Regions from separate parts of the Homo sapiens genome. Here region 1 is linked to region 2. The links are contacts of gene promoters, found by promoter capture Hi-C in human tissues and cell types (Jung and others, 2019). All regions are on one chromosome and are shown on one strand. The core of a region is centred on a gene start or on the middle of the fragment in contact, and the rest is flanking DNA. Distances in the headings are between cores, read along the strand shown. Region 1 overlaps LOC107985165 (a long non-coding RNA gene). Region 2 holds the start of ADCYAP1 (adenylate cyclase activating polypeptide 1).

Region 1 (6,714 bases), core at 3,819-6,318, 130 kb after region 2:
ATTAATTTTATTGCCAGTGGATATCTACCTGTTACTAAAGATGTCTTGCACGTATTCTATTGCATGTCTTTTGGTGAACATTGTGTGCGCTGTATGCAGTTGGGTATGTACCTAGCAGTAGAATTTCTGGGTCATAGGTAATATATATGACACAGATGTACTAACTCCCACCCACAGAGTTTTGGTTGCTTCCACATCTTCAACAATCCCAATGTATTTTCTCTTCTTAGTATTTTGTGAGTGTTCTAGCTCATTCTATTTTATAAGTTTCTCATGAGTGTTTTCTTACTGTGATTTTAATTTGCATTACCCTATGACTAATGATATTGAGAACCTCGTCGCATGCTCAGAGGCCAGGTGGATAGCCTCATTTGTGAAGCGGCTGTTCAAGTCTTCTGCCAATTTTGTCTACTGGATTGTCTGACTTTTATTTAGTAACTTGTAGCTCTTTAACTCTGAATATGAGTCTTGTGCCATGAGTTATATGAATATCTCAGTGTGGGTTGGTTTTCACTCTTAATGGTACTTTGTTCATGAACAGAAAGCCTCAATTTTTGTGTACTCTGATACATAAATATTTTCTCTTATGCTTTAGTGCTTTTTCCCTCTTCTTTAAGAAGTCTTTTTCTCTAAGTTTACAATGATCTATGTTTCCTCTCAAAACATTTAGATCTGCTATTTTTCTTCTTTTCAAATTTTGAATTAACATTTTGTTGACTTCTTAAAAATAATTAAAAAGTGTTCATTATTTTTCTATTCTTTGGAAGAAGTTTTGCTAAATTGATGTTTTCCTCCTTAAATGTTTGGAAGAATTCACTGGTAAAACTGTTTGGGCCTAGGTTTTATGTGAATGTGAGAAAGTTAAAATAATGGATTCACGTTTGTTGACGAATATCACATTATTCAGATTTTCTCTTTCTTTTGACAGTTTTAATGAATTGTAATTTTGCAGAAATTTTTCTCTCTTCCAAATTCTCAAATTTCTTGGCCTGAAGGTTTTGAACATTGTCATCTATGTATTTTTCATGTCTGTAGGATCTACAATGCTGCTCCTTTTTCATTCCTGAAATCAATAATTTGTATTTTTACATTTTTTTCCTGGATAAGTCTTAGGGTTTTCCCATATCTATATATATTTTTATTATTATACTTTAAGTTCTAGGGTACATGTGCACAACGTGCAGGTTTGTTACATAGGTATACATGTGCCATGTTGGTTTGCTGCACCCATCAACTCGTCATTTACATTAGGTATTTCTCCTAACACTATCCCTCCCCTAGCCCCACACCACGCAACAGGCCCCAGTGTGTGATGTTCCCCTCCCTGTGTCCGTGTGTTCTCGTCGTTAAACTCCCACTTATGAGTCAGAACATGTGGTGTTTGATTTTCTGTCCTTGTGATATTTTGCTGAGAATGATGGTTTCCAGCTTCATCCATGTCCCTGCAAAGGACATAAACTCATCCTTTTTTATGGCTGCCTAGTATTCCATGGTGTATATGTGCCACATTTTCTTTATCCAGTCTATCATTGATGGACATTTGGGTTGGTTCCAAGTCTTTGCTATTGTGAATAGTGCTGCAGTAAACATAAATGTGCATGTGTCTTTATAATAGCATGATTTATAATCCTTTGGGTATATACCCAGTAATGGGATCCCTGGGTCAAATGGTATTTCTAATTCTAGATCCTTGAGGAATCACCATACTCTCTTCCACAATGGTTGAGCTAGTTTACACTCCCACCAACAGTGTAAAAGCGTTCCTATTTCTCCACATCCTCTCCAGCATCTGTTGTTTCCTGACTTTTTAATGATTGACATTCTAACTGGCGTGAGAGGGTATCTCATTGCAGTTTTGATTTGCATTTCTCTGATGACCAGTAATGATGAGCATTTTTTCATATGTCTGTTGGCTGCATACATGTCTTCTTTTGAGAAGTGTCTCTTCATATCCTTCACCCACTTTTGGATGGGGTTTTTTTTTCTTGTAAATTTGTTTAAGTTCTTTGTAGATTCTAGATATTAGCCCTTTGTCAGATGGATAGATTGCAAAAATGTTCTCCCATTCTGTAGGTGGCCTGTTCACTCTGATGGTAGTTTCTTTTGCTGTGCAGAAGATCTTTGGTTTAATTAGATCCCATTTGTCAATTTTGGCTTTTGTTGCCATTGCTTTTGGTGTTTTAGTCATGAAGTCCTTGCCCATGCCTATGTCCTAAATGGTATTGCCTAGGTTTTCTTCTAGGGTTTTTATGGTTTTATGTTTTACATTTAAGTCTTTAATTCATCTTGAGTTAATTTTTGTACAAGGTGTAAGGAAGGGATCCAGTTTCAGCTTTCTACATATGGCTATCCTGTTTTCCCAGCACCACTTATTAAATAGGGAATCCTTTCCCCATTGCTTGTTTTTGTCAGGTTTGTCAAAGATCAGATGGTTGTAGATGGGTGGTGTTTTTTCTGAGGCCTCTGTTCTGTTCCATTGGCCTATATCTCTGTTTTGGTACCGGTACCATGCTGTTTTGGTTACTGTAGCCTTGTAGTATAGTTTGAAGTCAGGTTTGCTTAGGATGTCTTGGCTATGTGGGTTCTCTTTTGGTTCCATGTGAAATTTAATGTAGTTTTTTCCAATTCTGTGAAGAAAGTAATTGGTAGCTTGATGGGGATAGCATTGAATCTATAAATTACCTTGGGTAGTATGGCCATTTTCACGATATTGATTCTTCCTATCCATGAACATGGAATGTTCTTCCATTTGTTTGTGTCCTCTTATTTCGTTGAGCAGTGGTTTGTAGTTCTCCTTGAAGAGGTCCTTCACATCCCTTGTAAATTGGATTCCTAGGTATTTCATTCTCTTTGTAGTAGTAATTGTGAATGGGAGTTCACTCATGATTTGGCTCTGTTTTCCTGTTCTTGGTGTATAGGAATGTTTGTGATTTTTGCATATTGATTTTATATCCTGAGACTTTGCTGAAGTTGCTTATCAGCTTAAGGAGATTTTGGGCTGAGACGATGGAGTTTACCAAATATAAAATCATATCATCTGCAAACAGAGACAATTTGACTTCCTCTCTTCCTATTTGAATATCTTTATTTCTTTCTGTTGCCTGATTGCCCTGGCCAGCACTTCCAATACCATGTTGAATGGGAGTGGTGAGAGGGCATCCTTGTCTTATGCCCCTTTTCAAAGGGAATGCTTCCAGTTTTTTCCCATTCAGTATGATATTGGCTGTGGGTTCATCATAGGTAGCTCTTATTATTTTGAGATATGGTCCATCAATACCTAGTTTATTAGAGTTTTTAGCATGAAACATTGTTGAATTTTTTTGAAGGCCTTTTCTGTATCTATTGAGATAATCATGTGGTTTTTGTTGTTGGTTCTGTTTATGTGATGGATTACGTTTATTGATTTGTGTAGGTTGAACCAGCCTTGCATCTCAGGGGTGAAGCTGACTTCATCATGGTGGATAAGCTTTTTGATGTGCTGCTGGATTCTGTTCGCCAGTATTTTATTGAGTATTTTGCATCGATGTTTATCAGGGATACTGGCCTAAAATTCTCTTTTTTTGTTGTGTCTCTGCCAAGCTTTGGTATCAGGATGATGCTGGCCTCATAAAATGAGTTAAGGAGGATTCCGTCTTTTTCTATTGATTGGAATAGTTTCAGAAGGAATGGTACCAGCTCCTCTTTGTAGCTCTGGTAGAATTTGGGTGTGAATCCATCTGGTCCCGGACTTTTTTTGTTGGTAGGCTATTAATTATTGCCTCAATTTCAGAACATGTTATTGGTCTATTCAGAGATTCAACTTCTTCCTAGTTTAGTCTTTGGAGGGTGTACGTGCCGAGGAATTTATCCATTTCTTCTAGATTTTCTAGTTTATTTGCATAGAGGTGTTTATAGTATTCTCTTATGGTAGTTTGTATTTCTGTGGGATCGGTGGTGATATCCCCTTTATCATTTCTTACTGCGTCTATTTGATTCTTCTCTCTTTTCTTCTTTATTAGTCTGGATAGCAGTCTATCTATTTTGTTAATCTTTTCAAAAAACCAGCTCTTGGATTCACTGGTTTTTTGAAGGGTTTTTTGTGTCTCTATCTCCTTCAGTTCTGCTCTGTATTTAGTTATTTCTTGCCTTCTGCTAGCTTTTGAATTTGTTTGCTCTTGCTTCTCTAGTTGTTTTAATTGTGATGTTAGGGTGTCAATTTTAGATCTTGCCTGCCTTCTCTTGTGGGCATTTAGTGCTATAAATTTCCCTCTACACATTGGTTTAAATGTGTCCCAGAGATTCTGGTATGTTGTGTCTTTGTTCTCACTGGTTTCAAAGAACATCTTTATTTCTGCCTTCATTTCATTACTTACCCAGTAGTCATTCAGGAGCAGGTTGTTCACTTTCCATGTAGTTGTGTGGTTTTGAGTGAGTTTCTTAGTCCTGAGTTCTAATTTGATTGCACTGTATTCTGAGAGACAGTTTGTTGTGATTTCTGTTCTTTAACATTTGCTGAGGAGTGTTTTACTTTTAATTATGTGGTCAATTTTAGAATAAGTGTGATGTGGTGCTGAGAAGAATGTATATTCTGTTGATTTGGGGTGTAGAGTTCTGTAGATATCTATCAGGTCTGCTTGGTTCAGAGCTGAGTTCAAGTCCTGGATATCCCTGTTAATTTTCTGTCTCATTGATCTGTCTAATATTGATAGTGGGGTGTTAAAGTCTCCCATTATTATTGTGTGGGAGTCTAAGTCTCTTTGTAGGTCTTTAAGAACTTGCTTTATGAATCTGGGTACTCCTGTATTGGGTGCATATATATTTAGGATAGTTAGCTCTTCTTGTTGAATTGATCCCATTATCATTGTGTAATGGCCTTTTTTGTCTCTTTTGATCTTTGTTGGTTTAAAGTCTGCTTTATCAGAGACCAGGATTGCAACCAACACCTGCTTTTTTTTTCTGCTTTCCATTTGCATGGTAGATGTTCCTCCATCCTTTTATTTTAAGCCAATGTGTGTCTTTGTATGTGAGATGGGTCTCCTGAATACAGCACACCGATGGGTCTTGACTCTTTATCCAATTTGCCAGTCTGTGTCTTTTAATTGGGGAATTTAGCCCATTACATTTAAGGTTAAGATTGTTATGTGTGAATTTGATCCTGTCATTGTGATGCTAGCTGGTTATTTTGCCCGTTAATTGATACAGTTTCTTTATAGGGTTGATGGTCTTTACAATTTGGCATGTTTTTGCAGTAGCTGGTACCGGCTGTTCCTTTCCATGTTTAGTGCTTCCTTCAGGAGCTCTTGTAAGGCAGGCCTGGTGGTGACAAAATCTCTCAGCATTTGCTTGCCTGTAAAGGATTTTATTTCTCCTTCACTTATGAAACTTAGTTTGGCTGGATATGAAAATTCTGGGTTGAAAATTCTTTTCTTTAGGAATGTTGAATATTAGTCCCCGACTCTCTTCTGGCTTGGAGGGTTTCTGCTGAGAGATCCACTGTTAGTCTGATGGGCTTACCTTTGTGGGTAACCCAACCTTTCTCTTTGGCTGCCCTTAACATTTTTTCCTTCATTTCAACTTTGGTGAATCTGACAGTTGTGTGTCTTGGAGTTGCTATTCTCGAGGAGTATCTTTGTGGCATTCTCTGTATTTCCTGGATTTGAATGTTGGCCTGCCTTGCTAGGTTGGGGAAGTTCTCCTGGATAATGTTCTGAAGAGTGTTTTCTAACTTGGTTCCATTCTCCCCATCACTTTCAGATACACCAATCAAATGTAGATTTGGTCTTTTCACATAGTCTTTTTTCTCTAATATTGTCTTCACACTTTATTTCATTAATTTGATCTTCAATCACTAATATCCTTTCTTCTGCTTGATTGAATTAGCTATTGAAGCTTGTTTATGCTTCATGAGGTTCTCATACTGTGGTTTTCAGCTCCATCAGGTCATTTAAGGTCTTCTCTATGCATTTATTCTAGTTAGCCATTCGCCTAACCTTTTTTCAAGGTTTTTAGCTTCCTTGCAATGGGTTAGAACATGCTTCTTTAGCTTGGAGAAGTTTGTTATTGCCAATCTTCTGAAGCCTACTTCTGTCAACTCGTCAAACTCATTCTCCATTCAGTTTTTTTTCCCTTGCTGGCGAGGAGTTGTGTTCCTTTGGAGGAGAAGGGGCATTCTGGTTTTTGGAATTTTCAGCCTTTCTGTTCTGGTTTCTCCCCATCTTTGTGGTTTTATCTACCTTTGGTCTTTGATGCTGGTGACCTATGGATGGGGTTTTGCTGTGGATGTCCCTTTTGTTTATGTTGGTGCTGTTCCTTTCTGTTTGTTAGTTTTCCTTCTAACAGCCAGGCCCCTCAGTTGCAGGTCTGTTGGAGTTTGCTGGAGGTCCACTCCAGACCCTGTTTGCCTAGGCATCACCAGTGGAGGCTGCAGAACAGCAAATATTGCTGCCTGATCCTTCCTCTGGAAGCTTCGTCCCAGAGGGGCATCTCCCTGTTTGAGGTGTCTGTAGGCCCCTACTGGGAGGTTTCTCCCAGTCAGACTATGCAGGGGTTAGGGACCCACTTGAGGAGGCAGTCTGTCTGTTATTGGAGCTGAAACGCCATGCTGGGAGATCCACTGCTCTCTTCAGAGCTGTCAGGCAGGGACGTTTAAGTCTGCAGAAGCTCTCTGCTGCCTTTTGTTCAGATATGCCTTGCCCCCAGAGGTGGAATCTAGAGAGGCAGTAGGCCTTACGAAGC
Region 2 (6,383 bases), core at 2,566-5,065:
AGATTTCCATTGTTCTTCTAACTTTTCTAGCCAAACATGATTCCAGTTAATGTAACAATCTCACAGCCTGGAAAGAAACTGCCAGCCTGGGAAATCTACTTTTCTGGCCTGGGAAGTATTCTGGTGAGCACTGAGGGAAGGGAGTAGGGGTGTTGGAAAGAAGACTTGAAATTCCTTTGTGTTATCTGTAAATAGAACGTTCTAACTCTTTGGTCTCTTCTTCCTCCTCTCCCCCAACCCCCTCTTTCATCATTTTCAATTATATATAGGAGGTTGGAAAGTTTCTCTTGAGCTCTTAACCCCAGTCACCTAAATACCCTTTGTGAGGGAAACTGGGTAAGAACAATTAAAGTGGAAGGCTCTCCTACCCTGGTCTTGCTCTTCCCCAATTCTCCTCTAGCTCCTCCTCCCTTTATCTCTCTCTCTTCTCATAAAAGTGCTTTAGTTGAGGCTTCCTAGGATTCACCCTCCAGCTCCTATCTGCACTTGAAGCCAGGCTGGGGTCTGCACTTGCAATTAGTATGTCTGTTGGACTGGGCCACGGTATCCCACCTGGCCACTGCCGCATGCCTCCTCAGTGCATGCCGGGGCTCCTGGTCTCTCTAGCCTGGGGCTTTGGGCTGACAAGTTCCCTCTTCCTTGCAGCTCCCTCAAAGTCCCAGACACAAAGGCCTCCAGGATGCTCTGTTAATGCTTGACTGGAGCCTTCCAAGATTAGAATCAAAGGGGCATTTGGGGGTAGTTTTGGTCTTTGAGACTTCAGTCATCCCATATTCCCTCTACCCAATAGAAAGCAGAAGGGGCCTATACTCTCATCTAGCAGCTTCTAGTTCCTCCTATCTATTGGCCTTTTCCCTTGGCCCAGGGCCAAGGCCAGATTTTCATGAATAGGAAAGCTCTCCTGCAGAGAGATGTCAAACATGCCCAGCTAGACAATGGCCATGAGCAACAAAAGATCTGTGGGTGATCCTGTAGGAGTTTGATTCCCCCAGGCTGCTGTGGGCAGGGCTGTGTGGGTCTTTAGATTGTGTTGAGCAATTGGTGGGTCTAGGAAGCTTGATTTTCTGGAGTTCAGTGACCAAGAATCTCAAGTTCTCTGTTTAGTCTTTCACTCTCGTGAATGGGTTCAGGTCTGAAGGCCTGTAATTTTTGGGTGCTGAGCCCCGAGTTCTGAGCTGAGAGTATCTAAGCTGAGAAGAGCACGGGGTCGCAGCCTTGGTAAGTCAGAGGCACAGTTCAGCCTCTGTTGGCCCTTGGAGCCAGCAGTTAGTCGTCCTCCCCAGATAGTTAATCGTGTTTGTGGTTTTCCCCCTTTAATGGGCCGTGAAGTCAGCAAACTCCCCACATGGTGGCTCCCTTTACTAAAGTTGAGTAGTGAATTGTACAAGGAGTCTTGGAAATTTTCAAATATTTCTCCAGATTGAACTCAACTCAGAATTCGTGTGGGAGGAAAGAGTAAGGATTTTAATGGGGTTCACCTTTGACGTGAAGCAAGGCGGAAGACAGGAAAGCCACAGTGGGGAATAGCTTTGGGCGCTTTAGTAAGAAAGACATCTCTGCTTGATTATCTGGTAGTGTTCACCGCAGGCTCTTTGTGTGCGAGCTTGCTGCAGAGGCAGAGCTGAACATGGAAAACACGCATGTAAACAGTCCAACATAAATCAGTGAGCATATGTATCAGAGAAAAAGAGACATATTCCCATGTAGATGTGGTTTGAAGCTTTATTGAAGGCAGACAATCTGAAGCACGGCCAGGAATAAACTAAGAGGAAGCAGACAGTTTTCGGTCATTCATGGCCAGGAATAAACAAAACTTAGTTTTTTTTTTTAAGAAGGAGGAAGTATTAAATCTCAAATAAGAGCAGGAACAGCATTTAGAAGGAGAAATATAATATCTTGGAAAAAGCATGCAGAACTAATATAGCTTATTTAAATGTGAGATCCAAATCGTAGTAACAGGAAACCCTCCCACTAAACTGGAATTTCCCCTAATTTTTGTGTAAGATCCAAATAATTAAAATGCACTCTAATGGTTATTGATGGCTCTATTTTCTTTCTTTCTTTCTTCTTCTTCTTTTTTTTTTTTTTAAAGAAATAGACCTGAGTTCTCTTACTGGAGTAGAAATATATGAACCTTCTTCAATTACCCAGGAAATTGGAAGCCTCTGGGTGGATATGGTCTTCCCTTATTGCTTTCCTCTTCCCACATCATTTTCAGTTAAAAAAATTAACTGTTTCCAGCAGAGGGATTCCTGTTAGAAACCTTCATCAGGTGAACTTGTACTGGGAACCCTCATGCTTTCCCAGTCTGTCTGTGTCTCCCAAACAGAGCTGAAGTTGTAAACAAAGTGGAAAAACATATTTCTCGCCCCCAAATTCTTAAAATTTCACTTCTTGTGGAAAACACAATTTCACAACATCAATTTTTAAAATCTGTAAGAGCCACAGAAGGTGTGAAAGTAGCCAAACAGCCGGTCTAGAAATCCAAAAGCCAGGACTAACGGGGGACAGAATGCTTTTTCCTCAAATCCAGGCAGGGATGGGGAGCATTCTCAGCATTAGGGCATTTATGGACGCTACAAGAGGGAAAGGATGTATCTGAACGGTGGGGGTGATTTAGGCGATGAATCGCCACGTTAATAGCACTACTGCCAAATCTTCAAATTTAGAGGCTCTGGTGAAAAATTAAACCGGTGGCAATTTTCAACGTTTGTAGCATCTGTTACCCTACACTTCAGCACCCGGAGTCTGGACAGCTCCGCAGGCCGCGCTCCGGAGGCAGCATGAGCTCTCATCAATCTACTCATAGCCCTACTGTCAACGGCAGCCAGACTCAGGAGAGATTTACTGAAAATCCTCCAAGACTTCCCTTTAAAAACAAAACGACTTCCACATTTAATGGTCTATCTGAAAGAACATACGCAAGAAATTAGGAGATCTAAATTAAATTTATTAATAGGAGAGCTTGATGATGCTTAATTCCAGAGACCAGAGCTCTGATTGGTGAGGCTTGATGAAAAAGTAAAGAGAAATCGTAATTATATAGTTAAAAACATAACTTTTGTCATCCTCAAAATTCTAAAAATTCTTTACCTGTCCTTGAGAAACGGGTGAAATTGAAAACCATCAAAACAATTGGACTTCTTAAAAATTGGATTGTATGAGTGAAAGGTGTTTATGAGAAGTCGATGACTCCGGATCTTATCATCCAAGAGGACAGCACAGAATAGTTAATATGTTCCTTGAGGGACTAGGATGCTGACGTCTTTTTCTGATACCCGATCATTACGTGACTGAGAAAAAAAAAAAGGAAGTCATTTCATGAATAAAAATCGGAGCGCAACAGTGCAACAAAATATTCTGTACTTAAAGGCAACAGGCAGGCAGATGTTGACAAAGAGGGCTCTCCAAAAACCATGTTCGGATAGATTTTTGCGAACTGCACAGATAAATAGGAGCAGAAGGCCGGTCACCTCTGTAACCAGCGGTAGCAGCAGCAGAAGCCGCAGCTTCAGAGGCAGCCGGAGAGACCTCGGAGCAGAGAAGGCGCCGCCGACCCTCGCGGCTGCCTGGCCCGCGGCTCCTACAAAGGCGGGCTAGCCGCCCGCCCTCTCCCTTGCCTTCCTCCCCTTCTTTTCTGACTTTCCCTCTTTCCCTTAATCGCCTGCTTCTTCCTCCGGGTGGACTTACGGCCACCTTGCTCCTCCGCGCTTCACCTCATCGCCCCCTCTTTCTTTCTTCTGCCTCTCTCTCTGCGCCCCCTTCTCTCCGTGTCACGCTCCCTCCTGGTTCTGCGCGTCTACAAACTTTTGAGCAGAACACGAGCCTCGGCAAACGAGTCCCGCAGCTCCTCCTGCTGCTCCCGCTGGTTCCTGCGGCTTCTGCTCAGACACCAACGCCAGACGGCGATGCCTCTCGGGTGGTGACTCCAGCGCAGGAACTTGAAGAAGCGCTTTGCCCGCCGTCCTACCTGGCAGCTCTCCTGGCAGCGGGAGGAGTTGAAGGGTAAGGGAGGGAAAATCTTACCAAAGCGACCGGCTCACTCGACTGCTGATTCTTTCGCTTGGCATCGCGTCAGGGGAGTTAGCTTTCCTTCAGCCGGGTCTGGCTAGTTATTGGGCGCCGGGTAGATGCATATATATATATTTTTTTCTAACTATAGCAAGCAAGAAGTGGCAGGGCGCGCACCGGCTGTCGCCAAGTGCTGTTCAACTCAGGGAGCCGGGGCTTCGCTCCGTCCCTCCCCCGGCTTCCAGAGCTTTTTGGGGTTGGAGGGTGGGAGGCCAGGGGCGTTCTCACAGCTGTGTGTCCTCTTTCCCATCCTGCGCAGAATGACCATGTGTAGCGGAGCGAGGCTGGCCCTGCTGGTCTATGGGATAATCATGCACAGCAGCGTCTACAGCTCACCTGCCGCCGCCGGACTCCGGTTCCCCGGGATCAGGTAGGTGCTGGCTGCCTGGCCCAAGCAGGAGCTGGGGCTTCCCAGGCACAGACGCTTCCTCACGGTCTCCTTCCTGCAGTCCTTTGGGTCCAGACTACTAGCATCGCCCTCTGCGCCCCCGGTGCGCCTCCGCCAGCCTCGGCTGGACAGCGGGTCCCCATTCTAGCCGAGGGTCTGGCAGGCTCCGCGACTGCTCGGACGCCTCCCCCAGCCCTAGGCAGCTCAGGGTCCCGGGTAGAGCCAGTGAGCTTCTGGCCGCTGGAGAACCCCCCCTCCCCCAACCCGGCCCACAGGATGGGGGCAGGGCACGGCCCCTAGCTTGGTTTCTTTTACCTATTCTTGGGACGAGTTAGGAGAACTTCAGCTCTGGAGCCTGGCCGGGGGTTGAGCGTGAAGCTCCCTCGGACTTTGCTTTGTTACTGCTTGTTCTGGACTATCCGGGTGGGGTCTCTCTCTCTCCTCCACCCTTTCTTTTCATTTCATTCCAATTCTTTCCCCTGAAGAGCTTTCTTTCAAGTGATCCGTGTTCCAACTGCATTTTGAATCCCAGGCTGTCTTGGGGGGCGTGCGGTGGGGAGGGTGTTGGCCCGGTGTGATTGAGGAAAAGCGACTTAAGAGAGGGAAGAACAAGGACGAGACTGCGAAGGAGGGGGAAAAACAGGCGCAAAGGAGGAGGAAGGGAAAGCCAGCAGGCAGGCAGGACCGGGAGAGCAGCCCTGCCTGGCCCGGGATGGAGGAACCTTGGCTTTTTTCTTAACCCCGGGTTTCTAACCGGCAGGCGCGGCCCAGGTTCCCGGAGGCAGCCCCAGAGTCGCGGACCGATGTGCCAGGCTGTGGATGAGCCCTGGGTAGGGGAGGGTTCGTACCAGCGGCGCCTGGGGCAGCGAGGAGCGCGCGTTCTGCCTGCGAAGCTGCCTTCTCCGAGCCCCGCCCAGGAACATTAGCTCTGGGGGGCCGCTGATCATTGATTTGGACGGAGAGATGGGTTCTGGGTTCTGTATTAGGATTCCAGCATCTGGGCTCGAGGCAGGGCAATATCCAGAAAGACCCCAGGGTTCGGGGTACCCGGGCCAGGGCTGAGGCGCATCGCCGAGCAAAGGCTGGGTGCGAGGCGTGCGGAATGATGCGCTTGCCTTGCCCGGGCCTCTCCAAGGATGGAGAAAAGGCGAGTGAAGCAGCGAAGTACGACTCCAACCCCGCCCAGAGAGTGCTACTAGCGCTGGCTGCACGCCAAGTCTCTCCAGGGGTCCAAAGCGAGAGGGATTTGTTTTAACCCATCTCTACCCGTCCTGTGTCAAGAACGGAGGCTGTAGAGGGCGACTGCGAAGTCGCCAGGCACTCGCTGGATCTCGGTCCCCCTCCTCGTGCTCTGGGGTTGAGATGGGGCACCGCCATCGATAACAGATCAGCGCGAACTATTCGTTTAGTGGCCTTAAAACACCCTGGTTTCACCCTCAGCTATTTTCAAGTTCCCGTGTGCCTGGCACTTTCTCCGTGCGAGAAGCACCGGAGGGTGCGGACGCGCCACAGTCTGAGCCGCCGCCGAACTGGCTAAGTTTAGGGGCATTTATTATTCATGTTCCTGCCAGATCCTCGCCTGCCCAAAATAGAAACCGAGGTTCTCCGTGACCTACATCTGCTCGGAGAAGGGCTCCCCTGGGCTCGGAGGCTGGGGTGGGGGTGGCTGAGGAGTTGGCCCCCGCACGCCCCACGCATCCTCTCCTTTGCTTTCTGGGCCTCCCCATTCGGGTCTTCGCGTGGGTCAGCGCCCGGTCTCCCAGGGCCTTTCTCGTCCCCGCCCGTTGCTGCTTTGGGGAGGCTCGGGAGCCAGGCGGGGAGGGGGGCGGTCCTTTTCCGTAGACAGGTGTGCGCGATCGGCGGAGACGCCTCGGTTTCCCAGCGCTTGTTGAGGCCGTGGCCCGCAGGACGACCCTTTACCCGC

Evidence for each region. Contacts are between HindIII fragments. The study calls those that stand out against the background at their distance.
Region 1: a fragment that was not itself captured here is called in contact with the fragment with the promoter of ADCYAP1 in region 2 in 2 of the 25 tissues and cell types used here (H1 embryonic stem cells and mesendoderm cells).

Annotation. Positions count from the first base shown.
Region 1 is chr18:1,028,215-1,034,928 of GRCh38, forward strand. All of the region lies in intron 1 of LOC107985165 (a long non-coding RNA gene), which reads left to right. Among named protein-coding and RNA genes, the nearest start is that of LINC01904, 100 kb to the left of the region's middle. The HindIII fragment of the contact is 3,093 bases long and covers 3,523-6,615 here.
Region 2 is chr18:901,056-907,438 of GRCh38, forward strand. ADCYAP1 (adenylate cyclase activating polypeptide 1) reads left to right here and starts at 3,816. Exons shown (of 5, transcript NM_001099733.2): 1 at 3,816-4,005; 2 at 4,331-4,441. The coding sequence starts at 4,332. LOC124904340 (a long non-coding RNA gene) reads right to left here and starts at 5,597. Exons shown (of 2, transcript XR_007066435.1): 1 at 4,027-5,597; 2 at 1,709-3,293. The HindIII fragment of the contact is 12,558 bases long and covers 1,388-6,383 here.